Linked DNA regions of Homo sapiens: region 1 is linked to region 2. The links are contacts of gene promoters, found by promoter capture Hi-C in human tissues and cell types (Jung and others, 2019). All regions are on one chromosome and are shown on one strand. Each heading gives the region's core, a stretch centred on a gene start or on the middle of the fragment in contact. The rest is flanking DNA. Distances are from core to core; before and after follow the strand shown. Region 1 has its middle 160 kb from the start of LINC01085. Region 2 holds the start of BST1 (bone marrow stromal cell antigen 1).

What was found. The method cuts DNA at HindIII sites, captures the fragments that hold promoters and counts their contacts. A contact is called where the count stands out against the background at its distance.
Region 1: a fragment that was not itself captured here is called in contact with the fragment with the promoter of BST1 in region 2 in 1 of the 25 tissues and cell types used here (dorsolateral prefrontal cortex).

What each region holds. Positions count from the first base shown.
Region 1 is chr4:13,953,781-13,956,480 of GRCh38, forward strand. No RefSeq gene overlaps it. Among named protein-coding and RNA genes, the nearest start is that of LINC01085, 160 kb to the right of the region's middle. The HindIII fragment of the contact is 5,999 bases long and covers 1-2,700 here.
Region 2 is chr4:15,701,607-15,704,387 of GRCh38, forward strand. BST1 (bone marrow stromal cell antigen 1) reads left to right here and starts at 1,459. Exons shown (of 9, transcript NM_004334.3): 1 at 1,459-1,726. The coding sequence starts at 1,539. RefSeq lists a silencer at 1,398-1,477. The HindIII fragment of the contact is 14,003 bases long and covers 1-2,781 here.

The sequences.
Region 1 (2,700 bases), core at 199-2,698, 1.7 Mb before region 2:
ATTTTCTAGGACTCTGTAGGTTGTGAGAACTCCCCAGAGGATTCTAGTGGGTAGCCTTGCTTGAGAACATGGATCTAGTACTGCCCCTCATCTTGCAGGTCAGGGAATTGAGACTGAAAAGTAAATTCCACAAAGATATATAGCTATTGTTTGAGGAGCTAGAATTAAAATCAGGTCTCCTCACCATGCCCTGGAGTCTTTCCTTCTATCTGTCAGTATCTTCTTTGTTTGAGTGAGTAAAGATGAAATAGTAGGTAAGCAGGTCAAGACACCAGACCTAAGTTTTACCTGAGTTTGTCCAGTGGCAAGCATGTCTTCCTTCTAATTAATCTGCACCTAATAATGCCTTCTCTTCCCTTGGCTTTATAACCAGTATAGCATGGGGTCCTGGAAATAAATGGTAGAAGGGAAAGAAAACCTAATAGACATCCAGCAGCTTCTATAAGCCAAAATTGTTCTAGGTGCTTTATTATGTTTGCTTAGTTTATTTTCACAATAACCCTAGGAAGCTGGTATTTTTAGGTCTGTTTCAAAATGATGAAAGGGGCTCAGATGGATTTGGTCAGGTGCTCAGGGTCTCACAGTTGATAAGTGACTTGTGCTTAGTGCATAACTTTCCAAAGCCAATATTCTGTCAGAGTCCACCAGAATGTAAGTGCCACAAAGGCAGGGATTTTAAACATCTGTTTGTTTTTTGTTTTTGTTTTTTTCCCTGCTATTGCTTATAATACTGATAGCACATAGTAGGCACTCAATAAAATTTTGTTGAATTGATGAGTGACTGACACAAAACTATACTGGCTGTACTAGTCTGTTCTTGCATTGCTGTAAAGAAATACCTGAGACTAGGTAATTTATAAGAAAGGAAGTTGAGTTGGCTCATGGTTCTGCAGGCTGTACAGAAGGTATAGCGGCTTCTGCGTCTGGGAGGCCTCAGGAAGTTTCCAGTCATAAAGGAAGGCAAGGAGGGAGCAGGCACGTGACTGAAAGCAGGAGCAAGAGAGAGAGTGGGGAGATGCTAAACACTTTTAAATGATTAGATCTCATGAGAACTCACTATCATGAGGACAGTACCAAGGGAGATGGCGCTAAAGCATTCATGAGAAACCGCCTCCCCTCATGACCCAAACACTTCCCAATGGGCCCCACTTCCAACATTTGGGATTCCATTTCAATATGTGATTTGGGCAGGGACACACATCCAAACTATATCACAGGTCTTAAGACCTGGAGACTAGAGATTTTTGAGTCCCCCAAAAATACAACATAGAAGGAAAATTTTCCAATTTAATATTTTGTAATCCACTAGCTTTCAAAACATCTGCAAGGGAGCACAGTATATTTAAAACGCCTCCTCCAAGCTGTCCGATGCCAGGTGTTGTATATAAAGTGAAAGCAATATTCTAAGAATATGAGAAGTGTGTGTACGTGTGTGTGTGTGCTGTTACATTGTTAAGGGTATTTTTTTAAAGTTGTAGTTAAGGGGAGAAAAAGCAATTATATCTAGCAATTGTATTTTTGTTTGTTTGTTTTGAGACTGAGTCTCTCTCTGTCACCCAGGCTGGAGTGCAGTGGCGTGATCTCAGCTCTCTGCAACCTTCCAGGTTCAAGCGATTCTCCTGCCTCAGCCTCCCGAGTAGCTGGGACTACAGGCATGTGCCACCATGCCCAGCTAATTTTTTTGTATTTTTTTTTAGTAGAGATGGGTTATCACTGTGTTAGCCAGGATGGTCTCAATCTCCTGACCTTGCGATCTGCCCTCCTCGGTCTCCCAAAGTGCTGGGATTACAGGTGCGAGCCACCGTGCCCGGCCAGCAATTGTATCTTATAGAGCAGTTGTCCCCAACCCCCAGTCCACAGACTAGTACTGGTCAATGGCCTGTTAGGAACCAGGGCCACACACCAGAAGGTGAGCGGGGTGGGGGTGAGTGAGCATTACTGCCTGTGCTCTGCCACCCGTCAGATCAGTGGTGGCATTAGATTCTCATAGGAGCATGAATACTACTGTGAACTGAGCATGTGAGGGATCTTGGTTGTGAGTTCCTTATGAGAATCTAATGCCTAATGTTCTGAGTGGAACAGTTTCATCCTGAACTGCCCCCCTCCACAGTCCACGGAAAAATCATCTTCCACGAAACTGGTTCCTGGTGCCAAAAAGCTTGGGGGCCACAGTTATAGTGTATTCCAGCACACGGAGCGCAACCACGAGATGTGCCTAGTGAGAGAAGCTGACTGGGCATTTGGAAAGTTGGGACAGGCAGATTGCTTCTCATCTCACTGGGACAGAGCTAATCTGCAGGCTAACTAATATCCTTACATCCACCACTTTCCAAATCACAGCAACTTGCCCAGAAACGTACCTTTCTCATTCCTGCCTCTTCAGGATATGGCTCACGTAGGCACCCCAGAAATGCCTGCTGAGTGAAATGATGATGTGTCCCTATAGAAATGATATTTTTCTCTGCAAGTGCACATGCCCCAGGTATTGCAAATCTATGATCTTCCCCCAAGAATAACCTCTGGTTCATTTTGGGTTGAGTCAGGATGTAACTAATTTTCACTACTTTTGCAGTTTATCACATCCTTGCTTCATCCTTGCTCCGAACAGTCAGCTAAGATATTATCTCCATGTTGCAAGTAAAGCAAAGTAGGCTCAGAGAGCCTGAAGAATCTTCCCAAGGCCACTCAGCCAGGAAGTGG
Region 2 (2,781 bases), core at 209-2,708:
TTTTTTTTTTGAGACGGAGTCTCACTCTGTTGCCCAGACTGGAGTGCAGTGGCCCGATCTCGGCTCACTGCGAGCTCTGCCTCCTGGGTTCACGCCGTTTTCCCGCCTCAGCCTCCCGAGTAGCTGGGACAACAGGCGCCCGCCACCGCGCCTGGCTAATCTTTTGTATTTTTAGTAGAGACGGGGTTTCACCGTGTTAGCAAGGATGGTCTCGATCTCTTGACCTCGTGATCCACCCGCCTCGGCCTCCCAAAGTGCTGGGATTACAGGTGTGAGCCACCGCGCCCGGCCAATCCTGGCTCTCTTAAACTGAACATCTCCAGGATTTTGCATCTATCAGGAAGGGATATTGTGACCTCTGACAAGTTACAGTCGGCGGTAGGTATCCATGGAGAATTGGTTCCAGGAACCTCCTGGATACCAAAATCCACAGATGCTCAAGGCCCTTATATTAAATGGTGTAGTATACAGTATTTGCACATCCTCTTCTATAATTCACGTCATCTCCAGATTCCTTGTAATATCAAGTACTATGTAATTGTTACATAAGTAGTTGTTACATTGGATTATTTAGGGAATGATGACAAGGAAAAAAAAGTCCGTACATGTTCCGTACAGATGCAAGCATTCTTTTTTTCCTCAAATGTTTCTCATCCGTGGTTAGCTGAATTTGGATGATGAATCCGCAAATCTGGAGGGCCGAACATGCTTAACTTCCCTGAGTTTATCCATTGCTAAAGCGAGAGAAATTACAAACTTAGCTAGGAAGGGTGTTGCGGAAAGTAATTAATATTATACTTGCAAAGTGCTTGGCACGTTGTTGTGGTTATTATTTCCTGAAAACAAACAAACACCACTTATTGGTTGGTGTGAAAGAGGGCATCTGTCAAAGTTGTCGTCCTTTGGAGCCAGAAAAGTATTTCTTCTGATGATGACTGACCTCTCCTCACCTCTCCTTCAACCTTGCGGCTTCTTTGGGGCTCCCTCCCCGTGGACAGCGGTCAAGATTAGCCTGGGCCACAGTGCACTGGTCCTGTCCTGGGTGATGTTCCAAGCTCACTCTTTTTTAATTTTATTTATTTATTAATTTTTTTTTTAGACAGAGTCTCACTCTGTCGCCCAGGGCTGGAGTGCAGTGGTGCAATCACTGCTCGCTGCAGCCTCGATCCCCTGGGGTCAAGCCTCCTCACATCTCACCTCGCAGGTAGCTGAGACTACAGATGCGCACCACCAGGACCAGCTAAGTTTTGTATTTTTTTGTAGAGAGGAGGTTTCTCACCTGTATGTTACTCAGGTTTGTCTCGAACTCCTATACTCAAGCGATCCGCCCGTCTAGGCCTCTCAAAGTGCTGGGATTACAGGCATGAGCCGCCGCGCCCCGCCCCACGCTCAGTCTTGAAATTGTCTGGAACGGGAAACGGCAAACAGCGAGATATCCGAGCGAGAGTCCCGCCCTGCATCAGTTTGCGGAACCGCCTTGGTAGAAGGAGAGAAGGGGAGTGGAGGAAGCACGGGACTGGAGGGACCAAAGTTCCCCGATGGCGGCCCAGGGGTGCGCGGCATCGCGGCTGCTCCAGCTGCTGCTGCAGCTTCTGCTTCTACTGTTGCTGCTGGCGGCGGGCGGGGCGCGCGCGCGGTGGCGCGGGGAGGGCACCAGCGCACACTTGCGGGACATCTTCCTGGGCCGCTGCGCCGAGTACCGCGCACTGCTGAGTCCCGAGCAGCGGTGAGGCAGTCGGCCGGGTGGAAGGGGAGCCGGAAAGAGGCAACGGTGGGGAGGGCCTGGGGAGGGGAAAACTGGCGCTAAAGTTCGGGGTGAGGGGGCAATGAGAGAGGCCTTGAGGGGAGAGGTGAGTGTGGAGACAGCGATGGTCCTGAACGATGGGGGCGAGTGAGGAGGGGGCTGTGAAGTGTGTCTGCAGGTGAGGGGTGCGCTGTGCGGGGTCTAGAGATGAGTGTGTGTGTGTGCGCGCACACACACACTGTAGAGGTGAGGGGTGTGTGCGTGTGTTCTAGAGGTGAGGGGGGTGTGTGTGTGCGCGCGCTCTAGAGGTGGGAGGTGTGTGTGTGCTCTAGAGGTGGATGTGTGTGTGTGTGCTCTAGAGGTGGGGGTGTGTGTGTGTGTGTGTGCTCTAGAGGTGAGGGGTGTGTGTGTGTGTTCTAAAGGTGAGATGTGTGTGTGTGTTCTAGAGGTAAGGGGTGTGTGTGTTCCAGAGGTGAGGTGTCTGTATGTGTGTTCTAGAGGTGAGGGGTGTGTGCATGTGTGTTCTAGAGGTGAAGGGGGTGTGTGTGCGTGCGCTCTAGAGGTGAGGGGTGTGTGTATTCTAGAGGTGAGGGGTGTGTGTGTTCTAGAAGTGAGGGGTGTGTGTGTTCTGGAGGTGAGATGTGTGTGTGTGTGTTCTAGAGGTGAGGGGTGCGTGCATGTGTTCTAGAGGTGTGTGTGTATCTGTGTTCTAGAGGTGAGGGGTGTGTGTGTGTAGTCTAGAGGTGACAGGTGTGTGTGTGTGGTCTATAGGTGAGGGATGTGTGTGTGGTCTAGAGGTGAGGGATGTGTGTGTGGTCTAGAGGTGAGGGGTGTGTGTGTTCTAGAGGTGAGGGGGTGTATGTGTATTCTAGAGCTGAGGAGAGTGTGTGTTCTAGAGATGAGGTGTGTATGTGTGTTCTAGAGGTGAGGGGTGTGTGTGTGTTCTGGAGTTGAGGGGTGTGTGTTCTAGAGGTGAGATGTGTGTGTTCTAGAGATGATGGGTGTGTGTGTTCTAGAAGTGAGAGGTGTGTGTGTTC